3 separate regions of the Homo sapiens genome follow, and all the other regions are linked to region 3. Evidence: promoter capture Hi-C in 16 types of primary human blood cells and fetal thymus (Javierre and others, 2016). All regions are on one chromosome and are shown on one strand. Each heading gives the region's core, a stretch centred on a gene start or on the middle of the fragment in contact. The rest is flanking DNA. Distances are from core to core; before and after follow the strand shown.

Region 1 (3,647 bases), core at 778-3,277, 170 kb before region 3:
TACAAATTTGAACATAAACAGAAATTCCTTTGCTACAATTTTCCCCTTAATAAGACATTCCTTCCTAATGACATATGTGACTGCATTCATGGCTGAGATGTTTTCTAGGATGGTGAGAGCATCAGAGTGGACTATCTGGTGCCTTGGGGTCATGCATTTTCTTCTTTCAATGTCTACAGGATCCCCCATGTCCCACTTTGTAGTGTAACTCAGTGTGTGTCATTCTGGTTTTTGTTGTATAGATCCTTGGAAAGCCCATGTCATTCCTGCTGTGAGGTACAGGCAGCCAAATGGCATCATCTCTAAACATGCCTTCTCCTGGTACATCAAATTATGGAATAAATGAAAGCCATTTTGACAGATATTGAAGATATAAGTTTCTACTCTTCCCACACATGCGATTCTTCTCCCAAGTGAAGGATTTTACTGGTGAATTGTTATTAGAGATTAGTGTGGATCAGTGACTCTGCCAGGGGAAATTTTGCCCTCTAGGGGACATTTGGCAAAGTCTGGAAACATTGTTGGTTGTCAGAGCTGGGGGAGGGAGTCCTGCTGGCATTGAGTGGGTGGATGGTGCTGAACACCCTGCAGTTCACAGAGCCCCACCAGTTTGACCACCCAAATGTCAATGCTGAGGAGTGGAGAGCCCTGCTGTGCCCTCCCGCAGCTTCCCTGAAGCTTCCCCTCACCTGCTCCTCCCATGTCTCCCCACCACTTCCCCACTTCACCCGCCTCCTTACACCTCAGTCCCCTCCACCTGAACTCACCCCTTAGTCCAAGGCCAGCCCTGATCTCCGCTCTCCTGGTCTCCTTGCTCCTTAGCAGGAGGCGCCCACTAGATGGCGCCCTTGCCCTTACTGGAGCTCACCGTCTCCCTTTCCACCCTGAGACAAATGTGGCTGCTTTTACTGCCACAACCCCAGCCCTCCACGCTCTAGATTTGCTCAGGGAGCAGCTCCTGGACAGACCTCAGGGACCCCAGGGAGGAGCCTCACTCTGGAGATTTTGATGGCATGGTCTTTGAACTTCACTGTTACCCCCAGTCAGGATCCAGGATGTTGGGAGTGCATGATTCTGCCCGGTCCCACTTCAGCAGGACCCCACTGCTGAGTTGTCTGTGGGGACCCGGGCCTCTCATCTCCTTCTTGCATTGCAGGAGAGGGATCTTAGCACTGCTTTCACATAAAGTCAGATAATGGAGGAGTGCAGGTGAGTTTGGGAAGGTGGACATGAAGAGAGGTTGTGTCCCTAGAGGTGGCAGCAGTGAGAGGATGGGCAGGTGGGAGGAACACAGCCCATCCAGGGTTGCCAGCCATATTAGGAGCGACAGCCTTTCCTCTAAGCCTCCAGCCTTTTTCCTGAAACATTCCAGAACTTTCCACTTCAGCACTTCCCACTGAGGCTCCTCAGGTCTGTCCCTGAGCTCCCAGCTGAGCCTACCTACCCATCTGAAATCCTGAGTCCTGTGTCACCCTCGTTCCCCATTATTCTGTGCAGTTCTGTGGGACGCCCAGCTCTCCTGACACCCCCAGTCTTCAGAATGGCCATCAGCGCTGTCGCTGTGGCACCAGGGTGACTGCCGCCTGGAGGCTGAGTCCTGGCTTCCTGACAGCTGTGGGGCCCGCTCTAGGCTCCCTTGTCCTGATCATTCATCACCTCCAGGATGCACAGCAGCTGGGCCAGGGGGAGGAGCAGGGACAGGTGTCAGCCACCCTGTGTGTCTGCAAGTCAGGCTGGGGGTGTGGGAGGACGCCAGGAATGACTGAACTTTCTGATTTAGAGGGTGAGAGCTTGCACTGATGGAATTTGGGATTTAATAGGAAAAGCATAGCGTTTTCCTATTTTGTAGGCGGGGTGGCTGGAGTTTGGAATCATAGATTCCCCTGGGATGTCACTGTGGACCTCAGTCCCACCCGTTAGGGGCACAGATTTCAGAATCCACACCCTGGGGCAAAGCAGGCATGGGAGGCTCCATCAGCCTGGCCAGGGCTCTCTATTTGTGCAGCTGCTGCAAGGAGATGTGCACTCTGATGGGAACAGTGCTCCCTCCTCCTTGGGGGGCAGTATCTAGCTCCCTGCAGCCCCTCTCCCTGCAGGCCCTGCCCTCTCTGAACCTCACCTTCCCCAACCCGCCCCCCGCAATCCCATCTCAGCTGTAATCCCAACACTTTCTCATCCATTATGGGTGGACTGCTTGAGCCCAGGGGTTCAAGACTATGCTGGCTGGACAATATAGCGAGTTGTTGTCTCTACAAAAAGACAAAAATTAGCTGTGCATGGTGGCATACACCTGTAGTCCCAGTCACTCAGGAGGCTGAGGTGGGAGGATTGCTTGAGCTGGGGAGGCTGAGTTGGCAGTGAGTTGAGATTGTGCCACTGTATACTTCAGTGTAGGTAACAGAGCGAGACCCTGTCTCAAAAAATAAAAGTAAAAAAAAAAAAAGAAATATGGAATACATTATTGTTAACTCTAATCAACCATGCTATGCAATAGTCCACCAGTAATACCAGTAATAGCCAATAATGAATTATCTGAAAAAGAATACAATTTATTCTTAGCTATCTACTGCTAAAATTTTTAAGCTATCTTTTATGATAGCTGAAACAAAAGAAGTAAATTTAACCAAGGAAGTAAAAGACCTTTATAATGAAAACTGTAAAACATTGATGAAATAAATTGAAAAAGACACACGCACAAATAGAAGATATTCCATGTTCATGAATTGGAAGAACTGATATTGCTAAAATGTCCTTACCACCCAAAGTGGTCTACAGATTCAATGCAATTTCTGTCAAAACACCAATGATATTCTTCGAAGAAGTAGAAGATCCTAAAATTAGAAACCACAAAAATTCCTAAAACCTGCACAAAACACCCTGAGTTGCCAAAGCAATCTTAAACAAATAGAACAAAGCTAGTGGCATTACACTTCCTGACAATCAAAGCATACTGCAAAGCTATAGTAACCAAATCAGCATGGTCCTGGCATAAAAACAAGCACATAGATCAATGAAACAGAATAAAAATCCCAGAAATAAACCCATGCATCTCTAGCTAACTGATTTTCAGCCAAGGAGCCACATGCACACAATGGGGAAAGGACAGCCTCTTCAATAAGTGGTGCTGGGGAATTGGATATTCATATGCAGAAGAATGAACCTAGACCCTATCCCTCACCATGCACAAAAAATTAACTCAAAATGTATTAAATAAAGACTTAAATGTAAGAACTGAAACTATGAAACTACTAGAAGAAAATATAGGGGGAAAATCCATGACATTGGTCTAGGCAAAGAGTTTTTGGATAAAATCTCAACAGCATAAGCAACAAAACCAAATATAAACAAACGGGATTTCATCAAACTAAAAAGCTTTTATACAGCAAAGAAAAAAAAGGCCAGCAGAGCAAAGAGACAACCTACAAATGGGAGGAGAATATATTTGTAAATATATACATATATATTTGTAAATATATACATCTGATAAGAAGATAATATCCAAAATATATAAGAAAATTATGTTTCTGTATAGTTTTATCTGACTGGGATACAGAGGCCACATCCACAGTCCCATCCTCAAAGGCCACTTGTTCCCAAAATGTCAAGCACATCCCTCAATGATCCATCATCAACACCTATGTCTGTAG
Region 2 (3,534 bases), core at 543-3,042, 140 kb before region 3:
ACAGTTTCCCATTCACTCACACTCACCTTCCGAGATCCCAGACGAGCCACCAGTTGAAATGGGAAAAGTTTCCTTGTCCCCCTCACAGGAGGTGGAGTGGGGGTGTGGCTTGCTTCTTTAGTACTCCGCTGCTCAAACCTCTAGGGAAGCATACAGACTGGCAAGTTGTGGGGCTACAACCCCATGGCAGCATCTAGGGGTAGATGTTTACAGCTGCTGAAGCCCCAGTGGACATGTGGTACCATGTGCTCTTTTAGTTTTGCCATCTATAGGTGGCTTTGTGGTAACCAGCTCAATTAGACCCATTCCTTAACCCAAAGACAGAGGGCTTTCTGTATCCCGCGGTTGTTACCTAGGTGTACCAGAAAAATCAAATCACACGTGGTCTTGGAGAATGAGTGCAAGGTTTTATTGAGTGGAAGTAGCTCTCAGCAGATGGGGGAGCCAAAAGGGAGAATAGTTTTCCCCTGAAGTCGGGTTATTCAGCGGCCCAGGCTCTCCTCTGGCTGCCCCAGCCAAACTCTATGTCAATCCATTGGTCGGTGGCCTGCCAGAGTGCTGGTGCCTGTTGGTGGATTCCTCTCAGCGTCGAGAGTTTTTCCCTCTCAGGAAAGGGAGAGAAGTGGCAGCCACCCATGTGTTCTTGCACTGATGTGCTCCTCTCGACGTCCAACCTCCTGTGTGTCTGCCTGCTAGGGTCCCAGGGTTTTTTTAGGCACAGGATAGGGCATGGTGGGCCAGGGTGATCTTGGGAAATGCAACATTTGGTCAGGAAAACAAAAATGCCTGTCCTCATCTAGGTCCAGGGGCACAAGCCCAGGTTTGGAGCCCTAGCCAGGGACCCCGGCCTCCTCTACCCATCACTTTCCTTCACCTTTTCTGTATCATTCAAAGGGACCATGCCCTTCCCTTCCCAGCACTTCTCTTCTGTATCAATAGGTGATGTTTTTAAAATTTCCCAACTCTAGTGCAGGCATGGTACTAGACATATACATAGAAATAAAACCACACTTATTCTTCTGGCTGGCAAGACATAGTATTTTTGCCAAATTATGTGTTGTTTTGAAGCATTTTATGTACCCCTGGTCATATAAAAATAAAGCTATTTTGTTCAGTACAAACAGCAGCATTTTCTGGATTAGAAAGTTAATCATCTTAAAAGATCATCACGGATTTTTCCATTGCACTCATCACTAATTGCTTTGGCAAAAAATTTCTTATCTCACGCATGACAAAATCAGCCGCAGTATCTCCTAGTAATTTAATGGTGATGATCTTTATAAAGGAAATAAGCACATCAAGGGAAAACATAATTTTTTTAAAAAAAAGAGTAATAAAACTTTTTAAAAGTCTTTTTTAAAAGACTGCTTTTCTAAAATAGTAAAATAAAACTCCACCAATAAAACCACCAACAAAACAGAAAAGAAAAAATAATGATATGATCGGAGCTATTTGATGAAAGATGGTAAATTAAATTTAAAATGATTAGAAGAGAAAAAGCAATACCTGTCTCCCGTAGGTCTCAGTCCAGGTTCTGCTATGCCTTTCTCCTGGTGAGCCACCTATTTAAGAGTCGCTTAAAGCATATGTTAATCCAACAACAGCAGATTAAAAACCAATGCAATCTGAACTATTTGATCTAAAAACATAAATAAAATTTAAAACAAATAAAAGAGAAAAAGCAGTACCTGTGTCCTGTAGGTCTCAGTCCAAGATCTGCTCTGACTCCCTTGTGGTGAGTTAGCCCTTTAGAAGTCACTTGGGGTGGGGCATATGTTAATTCCACTAACATTGGTTCTGGCCAATGAGTCAGGAAGGTGGTAAATGGCACCTTTTCTTCTTGCTGATTTCTTTCAGTTCCTTTGGAGTCTGGACATTAGTCCTTTGTCAGATGCCTAGTTTGTGACTACTGTTTCCTATACTGTGGGTTGTGTGTTTACCCTGCTGATATTTCTTCTGCCTTGCAGAAGATTTTCGGTTTCATTAGGTCCTATTGATCTTATTCTATTTTTATATTTTTGCGTTTGCTTTTGGGGCATTAGTCATGACTACTTGGCCTAAGCCAATGTCTAGAAAAGCTTTTTGGATGCTATCTTGTAGCATTTTTAGACTTTCAGGTCTTAGATGGAAGTTTTTATATGCTTTGTTAAAGATCAGGTGACTGAAAGTACCGGGCTTTGTTTCTCGGTTCTCTATTCTGTTCCATTGCTCTATGTGCCTATTTTTATACTTCCTGCACCATTTATTGAATAAAGTGTCCTTTCCCCAATTAGTGTTTTTGCATACTTTGTTGAAGATTAGTTGTCTGTAAGCATTTGGCTTTATTTCTGGGTTCTCTATTCTGTTCCATTGCTCTATGTGCCTATTTTTATACTTCCTGCACCATTTATTGAATAAAGTATCCTTTCCCCAATTAATGTTTTTGTGTACTTTGTTGAAGATTAGTTGTCTGTAAGCATTTGGCTTTATTTCTGGGTTCTCTATTCTGTTCTATTGCTCTATGTGCATATTTTATACCAGTATCATGCTATTTTGGTGATTGTAGCCTTGTAGTATAATTTAAAGCCTGCCTTCAGATTTGTTCTTTTTGCAAAGTATTGCTTTGGATATGCGGTCACGTTTTTGGTTTTGTATAAATTTTAGGATTCTTTTTTCTAGTTCTGGGAAGGAGAATGATGATATTTTGATGAGAATTCTACTGCTCTGTAGATGGCTTTGGAGAGTATGGTCACTTTCACAATATTGATTCTACCTATTCATAAGCTTATAATGTGTTCCCATTTGTTTGTGTCAACTGTGATTTCTTTCAGCACTATTTTGTAGTTTTCCTTGTAGGAAACTTACATTAACCTACTTGGTTAAGTATATTTCTAAGTATTTTACTTATTAAAAATTCTCAGGGAAATGCAAAGTAAAACTGAGGTGGGAAATTAAAGAAAAATAAAATTAAAAAGAAAGGGAAATAAGCTTTCTTGTATTAAGCTAACTTGTCCCAGAGGCAGCAACAGGCACAGCCCAGACCCAGGAAAAGTCTTGATAATATTATTTATTGTATTCTGGAGACTCTTCCAGCACTCCTTCAATGTAGGGAGAAGAAAAACAAATTTTCCTTTGTTTTATGGTATGAGTTTATAGATTCTTGTTCTCTTTAACTAGTAACTTCAAGTATTCTGTTTTATCTAAGAAGTATGGCAAAGGTCATGAGAAGCCTGAGCAGGCCTGAACTACAGCTCTCTAGGCACCATAGTGAAGATAAACCAATGCAAGCCTCTTTAGAGCAAAACCTAGATAATAGACATCTGGGTTGCATAGCAACAGTTATGTGCAATCCTGAGTTATGAACCTGTTACAATTTGATTAACTGTCTTTTTCCTGCCTCTGTATCCCTGCTTTCACACCACTGTAAGCTTGCTTCAAGCTGGCCCACCCCCTTTTGTGAAGTGTGTATAAAAGTCAAGTGCTGTCTTTGTTCCAGGCCCTGTCTTTGGACGTGAGTCTGCTGGGCCTGAGAGCACTCAATAAAAGATTCTCCTG
Region 3 (3,550 bases), core at 639-3,138:
GACTCCGTTCCTAGATACCTACTACGTCCTACTCCTGGCCCATCTTCTTCACCCTCCTCCCGTTTGTTCCCCTACCCAGAGCTTCTTTCTACAGATTCCATCTTCCCCTCCTTATGGATTGGGGATCAGAGGATCAGACTCAACCTCACAATATCTTTTCAGATTTTTTTCCCCAGGGCCTCACCAATCCAGGCCTTCCCAAGGTCACCCCTTTCTTCTCCCCATCTCCAAGGTTAGTTTCTGTCCCTTCCCTCCACCCTCACTATCAACATTCCTATTGCCCTTAGGATGTGCCAGGTCCAGTCCTTAGCATTTTACATATTGATTTTTCACAGCCCTATGAGGTGGCCACTGTTAATATTTTAGAGAGGAAAATTAGCTCCATAGATCCAGAGAAGTGCAGTCCGTTGGCCAAGGCTACACAAGTGGAAAGCGGCAGAGCAAGGACATGCATCCACCCATGTAACCACTACTCTCCTATCTGTCAACTGTAGTTCAAAGCTCTTCTGCAACCCATTGCCTCTCCCCGTCTAAAGATAGGCTTCCACCTAGGTTTTTTGCAGTGTAATCTTGCCCTTAGCAGCATCCACCTGAAGGGATTGTGACCCTTTTGACAAGAAACAAAGCCTTCTCAAGTGTTTCTAAGAAATGTGGGCAAAGTGCCCTGTCTGTACCTCTCTCCCTCCTTTTTTCCCCTCATTAATTCAACAAATATTAATCGTCTCCTCTGTACAGTGTCCAGAACACACGAATTCTCTGTCTTGATATTCGATCAAGAGACACAGGAATCAAACAAATTTTTTACACAATTCATTTTAAAATCAGAATTGTGGCAAAGGAGCAAAGAAATACAAGGCCCTATGCAGCCTGTGACAGGGACCTGTTCTCTTCTTTCTTCTTCTTGAAGAGGGATCTTTGCCCAGAAGAAAGTCCCTCCCTTACAAAGTCAGTTTCATTCTCCAAACCCTGAGGGAGAAGGTCTTGCGGTCTTCCCCTGTTCCTCCAAGGAGCCTCCCCTGAATACCAGTGGCAGCTAATAAGGAACCCCCATCTCTCTCTTCAAGTCGTCTCCCTCAGGGCCCACAAAGAAGTTGCAAACGGGTTTTTTCCTCTCCTAAAGAAGTGGAAGTTCTTTTCGTCTCCTAAGGAAGTGGCAGATCTTCCCTTCGGTGTCTTCTCCAAGGAGTCTCCCACTCTTTTTCCCTTTTGTGACAGCCCTTCCTTCATATCCTTCAGGGACCCCACACTCTGAAGATAGCCTTTACATCCCTAATCCCCTTTGGGAAAACCGCCTGGGGCCCAGGTACTCACAGATCTAGCCAGTCCCCGAGCCCCAGGCTGCCGCAGCAGCAGGAGGGCAGCCTGGCTCAAACCACGGTTTAGCCGCCAGACCCTCGCTGCAGCGATCGCTACCGCCATCTTGGCTAACAACCACTCAGCGGTCCGGCACTCACGTAGGCTAGATTCGGGGCTGCCTCTTTATGTGCCTGACGCAAACTCCAGCACCATCTGACAAGAAAACCATCTTCTTCCCGTTCTGTGGTAGATAGAATGCACAGAGATTTGGAGAAAAAAAAATCTATCTACCCAAAATTTTCTCCAATCGCCTCATTGTAGTTACTCCTGTAACAGGCAAAGAAGAGGGCAACCTGACCAGGGCCTCAGGGATTTAGGGCCCGGGGGCCCAGAGTAAAGCGGATCAATGCCAAGGCCTGCCTTCTGTTCCCAAATGTCCAATGGCGTTGCCAGAGTTAGGAGGTGGGACTGGGCGGAGCCAGATTGTTGGTAAACGCTAAGCCACGTGCGGACGCCCAGGAGGATGGCCCAGCCCGGCGCGTGCGCACTGGTTACGCAGCCTGTTTGCGGCGCGCGCTGCCAGGCGGAAGTGACAACTGCAGCCGCACGTGGGCTCGGCGCGATGGAGGAGGAGACGCATACTGACGCCAAAATCCGTGCTGAAAATGGAACAGGGTCCAGCCCTCGGGGTCCTGGCTGCAGCCTCCGGCACTTTGCCTGCGAACAGAACCTGCTGTCGCGGCCAGATGGCTCTGCTTCCTTCCTGCAAGGTAAGAACTTCACCCAGGTCTTTCTTTTGGAGAGGGACTACCGTGTACTGTGCAACCGAGTGCCCACCTCCTCACGATACCAGCTGGTAAATGTCACTCCTGCGTTGATGCATGATTTCTTGTCCGATTGAATACTACTAAATACGCAGGGATACACACATCTCTCCCTCACGACTAGAAAGGAGAAGATAGTTCCATCTTTGTAACTATCTCTGAGAATGAGAGGAGGGGCAGACTGTCCGCCCAAGAATTGATATTTCAGAATAGGGAAAATCACCTCGCCAGGGTAAATATCCCCCTTAACTCGATTCCTCCTCCACCCTCCCACCCCCACCCCCCACACACACACCCTCTAGGTCCTTGCATCCCGGACTGAAGCAAACCTGTCTATTTGCATACTGTGGACTGTGGCGGATCTTTCACCCACGTAAATACTCCTCAAATTGAAGATAATGTCATTGCGCTGGGTTGAGAAATACATCCCCACCGCTACCTCACTGCATCTCTCCACACAAGTAAATATCCCTAAGATTAGGGCAAGTCAAAAAAAAAAAAAAAAAAAAGATTAGGGCAAGTCTTACCTATAGAGCAAATATCCCCTTTTCCTAGCTAAATAACTCTCAGAAGTAGATTAACTCCAAGAATATTTCTCTTTAACGTTTGAGACGGGAGGCCGGGGGCGGTGGCTCACGCCTGTAATCCCCACACTTTGGGAGGCCAAGACCTGTGGCTCACCTGAGGTCAGGAGTTCGAGACCAGCCTGGCCAACATGGCGAAACCCTGTCTCTACTAAAAATACAAAAACTAGCCAGGCATGGTGGCGGGCGCCTGTAATCCCAGCTACTCGGGAGGCTGAGGCAGGACAATCACTTGAACCTGGGAGGCAGAAGTTGCAGTGGGCCGAGATCGTGCCATTGTACTCCAGCGTGAGCGACAAAGCAAGACTCTGTCTCAAAAAAAAAAAAAATTGAGACAGCGTCTCACGATGTCACCCAGGTTGGTCTTGAACTCCTGGGCTCAAGCAATCCTCCTCCCAAAGTGCTCATACAGGTATGAGCCACCACGCCCAGCCCCAATACATTTTAACAAAATTTGGCTGCTGTGTTGATTGTGGGGAGTATGGGGGAAAACAGGGAGGTGATGGTGGCTCCAGCCAGAGCAGGAGTAGTGGAGGTGATGAGATTCTGGATGTAGTTTGAAAGTAATACGGACAAAACTTACGTATAGTTTGGTTTGAGTGCGAGGAAAAAGATTCAGGCATAACTAAGGTTTCTGCCCAGATCTGTACAAGTCTGGAAATCAGAAGAGAGACCCAAGCTGGACATAGGCAATTTGGAACTCTCTGGCTATATAGATGGTATTTCAGGCTATTGCCTGAACGAAGTGAGTGTAGATGGAAAAGAGAAGAGGTCCCAGGACCAAGCCCTAGGCCTTCCAACTTGAGCAGTCAGAGACATGTGACAAGCTAGCAAAGGAGACTCAGA

Evidence for each region. The method cuts DNA at HindIII sites, captures the fragments that hold promoters and counts their contacts. A CHiCAGO score of 5 or more calls a contact.
Region 1: a contact is called between a fragment that was not itself captured here and the fragment with the promoter of EXOSC5 in region 3, in 5 of 17 cell types (naive CD4 T cells, total B cells, endothelial precursors and 2 more). The highest score is 6.9, in naive CD4 T cells.
Region 2: a contact is called between the fragment with the promoter of LINC01480 here and the fragment with the promoter of EXOSC5 in region 3, in 16 of 17 cell types (total B cells, naive B cells, naive CD4 T cells and 13 more). The highest score is 17.0, in total B cells.

The regions. Positions count from the first base shown.
Region 1 is chr19:41,568,000-41,571,646 of GRCh38, reverse strand. It overlaps a transcript of CEACAM21 not described here. Among named protein-coding and RNA genes, the nearest start is that of CEACAM21, 6.3 kb to the left of the region's middle. RefSeq lists a silencer at 1,521-1,815. The HindIII fragment of the contact is 2,694 bases long and covers 681-3,374 here.
Region 2 is chr19:41,533,756-41,537,289 of GRCh38, reverse strand. It overlaps LINC01480 (long intergenic non-protein coding RNA 1480), which reads right to left and starts at 1,792. Exons shown (of 3, transcript NR_110724.1): 1 at 1,689-1,792; 2 at 1,507-1,576; 3 at 386-689. The HindIII fragment of the contact is 2,878 bases long and covers 1-2,080 here.
Region 3 is chr19:41,395,697-41,399,246 of GRCh38, reverse strand. It overlaps EXOSC5 (exosome component 5), which reads left to right and starts at 1,888. Exons shown (of 6, transcript NM_020158.4): 1 at 1,888-2,066. The coding sequence starts at 1,919. It overlaps BCKDHA (branched chain keto acid dehydrogenase E1 subunit alpha), which reads right to left and starts at 1,429. Exons shown (of 9, transcript NM_000709.4): 1 at 1,312-1,429. The coding sequence starts at 1,419. RefSeq lists enhancers at 574-1,245, 1,401-1,680, 1,246-1,918 and a silencer at 1,677-1,965. The HindIII fragment of the contact is 9,689 bases long and covers 1-3,550 here.